Linked DNA regions of Homo sapiens: region 2 is linked to region 1. The links are contacts of gene promoters, found by promoter capture Hi-C in blood cells and fetal thymus (Javierre and others, 2016). All regions are on one chromosome and are shown on one strand. The core of a region is centred on a gene start or on the middle of the fragment in contact, and the rest is flanking DNA. Distances in the headings are between cores, read along the strand shown.

What was found. Contacts are between HindIII fragments. The CHiCAGO score rates a contact against its expected background, and 5 or more counts as called.
Region 2: a contact is called between the fragment with the promoter of SNX22 here and the fragment with the promoter of LACTB in region 1, in 1 of 17 cell types (activated CD4 T cells). The highest score is 5.4, in activated CD4 T cells.

What each region holds. Positions count from the first base shown.
Region 1 is chr15:63,120,103-63,123,613 of GRCh38, forward strand. It overlaps LACTB (lactamase beta), which reads left to right and starts at 1,759. Exons shown (of 6, transcript NM_032857.5): 1 at 1,759-2,126; 2 at 2,534-2,600. The coding sequence starts at 1,770. It overlaps LOC107984798 (a long non-coding RNA gene), which reads right to left and starts at 1,665. Exons shown (of 2, transcript XR_001751584.1): 1 at 638-1,665. RefSeq lists silencers at 1,648-2,227, 2,248-2,317, 2,328-2,517. The HindIII fragment of the contact is 2,300 bases long and covers 770-3,069 here.
Region 2 is chr15:64,150,190-64,153,700 of GRCh38, forward strand. It overlaps SNX22 (sorting nexin 22), which reads left to right and starts at 1,542. Exons shown (of 7, transcript NM_024798.3): 1 at 1,542-1,661; 2 at 2,054-2,137; 3 at 2,449-2,553; 4 at 3,056-3,150; 5 at 3,463-3,495. The coding sequence starts at 1,587. RefSeq lists enhancers at 201-310, 3,238-3,467, 3,491-3,511 and silencers at 1,228-1,667, 1,868-2,247. The HindIII fragment of the contact is 12,291 bases long and covers 1-3,511 here.

The DNA of each region.
Region 1 (3,511 bases), core at 509-3,008:
TTCTTCTTCCTTATCCCTCCCTATTTCCTGTTTCCCCACACATAGTTACATTTCTTCCTTGCTATATAAACCCCTAATTTTAGTTAGCTGAGGAAATGGACTTGAGACTGAACTCCCGTTTCCCTGGCTGCAGCACCTGAAAAAGCTTTGTTTTCCCCCGGCGATACTCATTGTCTTGGTGACTGGCTTTCTGTGTGGCGAGCAATGGGATCTAGGCTAAACCCTTGGTGTTTCAGTAACATATGTACAGTTTAAAGAAAAATTATGTACAGTTTAAATAAAAGTGGGCACTCATAACCACCACTGACTGCGTCTTTTACATTTTTCTCTTTATATTTTTTCTCTCATGTTCTTGGAGTAGTGGTGACCCCCACCGTGGGAACCTCCAGTACTATCTTAATAGAGTACATCTGTCCACTATAACTGCAGTTTCAGTGTCAAACGCTCTGGGTCCTAGGATATTCTGGTCTCTTGGAGTCTTGGGTTTTGTGAGTAGCCCCAGAAGCTTTACTTATTTAGCCCCACTATTTTCTTGCTAGGTATGGATACCATTATTGCCTTTTCCTCCTATTAAATAATTATTACCTCAATATATTTATTTTGAGGTATGTATATGTTTACTCAGTAAGTTTATTACCTCAATATGTTTGTCCTGATGGCTTGTCAGTTCAAGTCTGTGAGCTCTCTTCTTTATTCCACCTGCAAGAAAAGACAGGGCCATTTTGTATATGGGGCATATTGCCCCAGTGCTGAAGGTATAAAGCCTACAAGCTTTCAAAGATTGTGTGTGTGTGTGTGTGTGTGTGTGTGTGTATGTATGTATCCCAAAATATAAAAATTACAAAACTGATAAATGTTTAAGTAACTTCAAATTAACATATCAATTTCATTACACGTTAAACTAGGATTTTATACACATTTTACATTTTGTAGCAATTTGAGATTAGGTTTCTTATTTCACAAGAATGTCTGATCATTTACAGATGCTGAGAAATCATAGGTAATTGTAAATTATAATAGTTACTTTTGGATTAAAATTTTTCAAGCACGAAATTTTTAAAAAACACTTTATCTTTTATAGCAAAAGAAAGGTAATATAAGGTCTGGATGTAACTTCATGTCTTTGGTACGGTGTGGAGCTAGAATTCCAGAAGCAATAGATTTTAAAACATCTTTAGGGAAATGGGTGAATTGAAATGAGACATAAGGGAGATGGCAAGAGAGTGAAAAGAAGCGCGTTCTAAAGGGGGAAAGGAGAAAGGGAAAGGAAAGGAGAAAGGCATCTCTAAAGGGAAAGGAGATGCCTGCTGAGCGTCTACTGTGTGCCCTGCGCTGTTCCAGAAGTTGAGGATCCAAAACTAAGTCTAGGCTCCCCAAAGAAGTCCCACTCTGGTAAGGAATCTGACAAGTAGTTAAATGATACAAAGTGTTAACTGTTGTTAAAGAAGTGTGCACACTGAGGGGCAAGATGGTAAGGGCGAGAACTCCCATGGGACGGGAACTAGGAAGGCTTCTGGGAGGTGACGCTTGATCTGAGGGTAAGCAAAGGAAAAAAAGGAAAGAGAGACAGAAAGGAAAAACAAGGAAGAGACAAGAAAAGGGAGAGGAAGAAGGGCTCGATGCGATCGGCGCTCGGGTAGTCAGGCGTCGACTGCTAGGGTCTGACCGCGGTCCCCACCCCCGTCCCGCCCCCTGCCCTTCCCTCCGCCCCGCGCCGCGGCTGGCAGGGTGTGCGTGAGTTTGGTGGCGGCCGGCTGTGCAGAGACGCCATGTACCGGCTCATGTCAGCAGTGACTGCCCGGGCTGCCGCCCCCGGGGGCTTGGCCTCAAGCTGCGGACGACGCGGGGTCCATCAGCGCGCCGGGCTGCCGCCTCTCGGCCACGGCTGGGTCGGGGGCCTCGGGCTGGGGCTGGGGCTGGCGCTCGGGGTGAAGCTGGCAGGTGGGCTGAGGGGCGCGGCCCCGGCGCAGTCCCCCGCGGCCCCCGACCCTGAGGCGTCGCCTCTGGCCGAGCCGCCACAGGAGCAGTCCCTCGCCCCGTGGTCTCCGCAGACCCCGGCGCCGCCCTGCTCCAGGTGCTTCGCCAGAGCCATCGAGAGCAGCCGCGACCTGCTGCACAGGATCAAGGTGCGGCCACTGGAGCGGGGGGCGTAGGGGGCCGGGGATCCACCCCTGTCGGCGGTGCTGTCGGGGGCTGAGTGGACCCCACCCGGGGCGGCGGGGTGCCCGCGATCGGCTTCCGAGAAAGACTTCCCATTTCCCCACCGCCGAGCCGTGGTCAGACGCTCTTGGGGGTTCCCCAAATCTGGGTGGAGGTCACCGCCTGTCTCGGGGACCGCCCCTTCCCCCTAGGGGGCGGACAGGCACATCCCTTGCTGTTAGTGAGTGACCATGGCCTGGGACGAGGTGGGCGGGGCCCAGGTGGAGGGGGCGGGGCCCAGGCTCAGGGGGCGGGGCCTTGGAAGGTCCCCGAGGAGAGCGCTGGGCTTTTTCAGCAGGCCCGTAACTGTCGGTTCTTTCCCCTTCGGTCTTAGGATGAGGTGGGCGCACCGGGCATAGTGGTTGGAGTTTCTGTAGATGGAAAAGAAGTCTGGTCAGAAGGTGGGTTCAGAAAATTGTTGTTTTGTTCTGTGCCAGTTGGTAAATAAAATATTGTTTTACTGGTTAGAGTGGATCCCATGAAATGCTATTGCATTTACATAAAACGATGCATATTGTAGAGAAAACATCTAACATAATAAAGAGTCAGGTGTTTTTAAATCACGGTAAGGTTTAAAATGTGACTAATAAATTGGAGTCATGAGGATGGCTACCCACTCCCACTTTTCTCTTAGGACTGGATTTATTAGTCTGAAAGTTTTATACAGTAGTCCCTCCTTATCCTGGGGATATATTCCAAGACCCTCAGTGGATGCCTGAAAAAGTGGATGATATTGAACCCTGTATATACTATATTTTATCTTATATATACATATCTATGATAAAGTTTATAAATCAGGCATAGTAAGAGATTAGCAACAATAATAAAATAGAACAATCACAACAATACTCTGAGTGGCATGCAATTTAAAGCTTACGAATTGTTTATTTCTGGAATTTTCCATTTAATACTTTCGGACCATGGATAACTGAAACTGAGGAAAGCGAAACCACAGATAAGGGGTAACTACTGTGTAGAACAATCCATTAACTGAGTACTTGCAGGTAACACTTATGGGTAGATAAAACTCAGAATTTGTGAAGTTTTCTTTTTTAATTAAGTTAACAATTTCTTGAGGCCTCTCTTCCGTAAAAAGCAAAGTGCTAAGTACTGGGGTTATACACTATTGTAGGGACCAGCCCCACAGGGTCGGTGGGTCTCTCCCTGTGTGCGGCGACGAGAGAGTGTAGAAATAAAGACACAAGACAAAGAGATAAAAGAAAAGACAGCTGGGCCCGGGGGACCGCTACCACCAATGCGCGGAGACCGGTAGTGGCCCCGAATGTCTGGCTGCGCTGTTATTTATTGGATA
Region 2 (3,511 bases), core at 292-2,791, 1.0 Mb after region 1:
TTCTCTGGGGGCAGGGCTGGGGATGGAGGTTTTTTGCTCCAGCTCAGAGGCGTCTCTGCAGAAGCAGGGGAGGGGTGAGTCCCCTCAACCCCAGCCCCGAAGACAGGCACTCTGCTTCCTCCTGCCCACCCCAAGACCTCCCACTACGTATGAGCTTTGGAAGGCAGGGCCTCGCCTCTCTGCATGTCACGGGGCCTTTGTGGGGGAAGTCAGTGGAGTAGAGGACCTGCCATGGTGCTGCTGATAGCAGCTCTCCGACAGCTGAAGGGTGCAGGGCTGAGAGGTGGGAGCAGAGGTCCTTTCCAGCACATGGCCTGAGAGAGTTCTGGATCAAAATCCTGCCACATATCCAGGAAGAACCTGCCCGGAGGGGTGGACAAGAGCAACCCGGTGCCACCCCCCAAAGTCTCTCTTCCCATCCACTGCCCTGTGCCCACTTATCCTAGTCATCCAGGAGAAGCCCACAGTCAAGCTGCTGCTCAATGCTTCTGTTAAGGGCCTAACATGAATCATCTCACTTTTTTTTTTTTTTAAGACAGAGTCTTGCTGTTGCCCAGTCTGGAGTGCAATGGTTTGATCTCGGCTCACTGCAACCTCCGCCTCTCAGGTTCAAGTGATTCTCCCGCCTCAGCCTCCTGAGTAGCTGGGATTACAGGCATGTGCCACCACACCTGGTTGATTTTTGTATTTTTAGTAGGTACGGGGTTTCACCATGTTGGTCAGGCTGGTCTCGAACTCCTGACCTCAGGTGATCCGCCTACCTCGGCCTCCCAAAGTGCTGGGATTACAGGCGTGAGCCACCGCGCCCGGCCAAATCATCTCACTTTATACACTTGCCTGAAGGAGCCACGTTATCCCTATTTTGCAGATGAGCAAAGGTCTACGGAGCTCCTGAAATCCAGGCAGTCTGACGTCCAAATCGGAGTCTAGGTCCCTAAACTGCCTCTTCCCCACAAACAGCCTGGAGCCCCTTAGGGTTGGAAGATATGAGTGAATGGATGGATGAAAACAATGAATGAATGGGGGGGCCTGTGGATGCTGGGGAAAGGGGCATCAAAGCTGGACTGGGTCCAAGCCTTGCTCAGGTGTGGCCTCAGCCGGGGAATCCAGATCACAATTTCAGGGACCAGGCTGAAAGGAGGGAAAGGCTCGGGAAGGGACTGAGGAACCCAAGACAGGTCCCTGGTTGGCCCCAGGACCGGCGCTGAGGCCCGGGCCCCGCCTCCGTCCGCGCCTGGAGCCACAGGCCGTCCTTGGTAGGCGCTTAACTCAGGTTGGGTGACATTTTCGCTCGCCAGTTCCTGGCATCAGTGAGTGCTCCGTCAATGTTTGACAAACGGTTGACTCCACTGCCCCGCGCTGTGGGCGCACTAGACTTCGGGGGCGGCGTCCAGGTCCCGCCTAATCTTCTAGGCTCAGGACCCGCGGCGCAAGGGAACGCCCGGGGCGGGGTCGCCTGGGGGCGGGGCCTGGGGTGGGGCCTGCGGACCGAGGGGGCGGAGCCGGCCGCCCCGGGGTCCTCAGTCCGCTCCGGGAGAGTTAGGGCTCCGAGCCGAGCGCGCGGAGCAGCTGGGGCCGGGGCGCGGATGCTGGAAGTTCACATCCCGTCGGTGGGGCCCGAGGCCGAGGGGCCCAGGCAGAGCCCGGAGAAAAGCCACATGGTGAGCGCGGCCCCTGGATGGGGAGGGGCGCCGGGACCCGCAGGATTTCCCCGCGCTGCGCTCAGTGGGGACCCGGGGCCCGGGCCTGGGTGAACGAGCGCTGCGGGCTGGACCGTCGGGGGAAACCTTGTCGAGGGTTTGGGGGCCGCTTGGATTTGCCAGCCTCGCGGACCATGGTTCGAGCTCTTGAGGGACCCCAGGGCTCCGAGGGGCAGGTCCGCCAGCCGGTTCTCCCAGGTGTGCGGGAGCGGAGAGTCCCCGGGCAGCCGCGGCGCCGCAAGGCCGCTTTGTGCCTTTGAGAGCGGGAGGGTGGGCACGTCGCCAGGCGCAGGTGCTGCGGCGTCCTCCCGCGGGGCCTCACGCGCAGACCCGCTGCCCGCCCGCGCCGCCAGGTGTTCCGAGTGGAGGTGCTGTGCAGCGGGCGCAGACACACGGTGCCAAGGCGCTACAGCGAGTTCCACGCGCTGCACAAGCGGGTGAGGCGGCGCCGACCTCCCACCGGCCCCGGCCCAGCCTCTGTCCAGCCCCCGCCCAGGCCCTGTGAGGCGGGCGGGCGAGCCCCAGCCTCCGCCACCCCCATTACTGCCTCAGTCCCTGCGCAGCCGGTCAGCCCCCGGGCCTCTGTGGGTGGGTTGGGGCCTTCCTCGCCCTCGGCCGGTCCACCACTCACCAGGGTCTGTCCCAGTAGAGCCCGAAGGCGGGGGCGCGGGAGGGCTTCTGGCTGGGGCGAAGAGGGCTTGAGGGCTCAGTCGGGATGCTGTGATCGCACGCGGTAAACCTCCAGTAGATCAAGAAGCTGTACAAAGTGCCCGACTTCCCCTCGAAACGCCTGCCCAACTGGAGGACCAGAGGGTTGGAACAGCGCCGGCAGGGCTTGGAGGCTTACATCCAGGTATGCGAGAGCACAGTTGGTTGCCCCCCGGCCTTCTGTGCCAGGGGTGTGGCCCAGACAGAGAGGTGTGGGGGCATGGCAGGGAGGGAACCCACAACTTGGGGATGTTATTCACCACCTCAAGCATCAATTTTCTGAGTCTAATATAGGTCCAAACACCCCCCTCTGGCTTGTTGAAAGGACTGAAAGAGGTAACGGACACAGGTAGTCCCAGCTCCATGAAACCCAGGTCCTGTCCCCTCCATGGTGAGGTCCTGTGCTGCCCTCCTGATGGCATGTAGGGTGAGGGTCCTTCCCCCAACAGCAAAGCTATGCCGCGTCATGGGGTACAACCTGTGCACACAGCGCCCAGCGCCCAGAAGGGCCCTGAGCCTGGTTCAACGCTCTGCTGTCATTGTCGTGAAATTCTTTTTTTGGAACAAAGAGCCCTGCATTTTCACTGGCACTGCGCTATGCAAATTAGTAGCTGGGTCTGATTGCAGGTCTCCTCTGTCCTCTCCAGGGCATCCTGTACCTGAACCAGGAGGTGCCCAAGGAGTTACTGGAATTCCTGAGACTTCGGCACTTCCCCACAGACCCCAAGGCTAGCAACTGGGGGTAAGGGGGGCCGATGGCGGGGGCCAGGGGCTGTCAGCAGTGAGCAGGTGAGGAAAGGTGTTGGAGGGCAAGCCCTTTCTTTTCACATCTGCCAGGATCCAGCATGACCGCCCTCACCAGCTCTCTTGACCTGGGTGGAGGGGCTTTTTTTTGGACAGACTTGGTTACCCCCGCCACCTCCGGAACTGGGGCTTGTTACAAATAGAAGCAGTGGTCCCCTGGGAGGTGCAGTTCTGGGCTCTGGTGTCTCCACCCCTTCCTCACGCTCCCCCGGCATCCCCAGGCAGCTTACAGTGTTTCTCTTCTCTTCAGCACCCTGAGGGAGTTCCTGCCTGGCGACAGCAGGCAAGTCAAAGCCCTA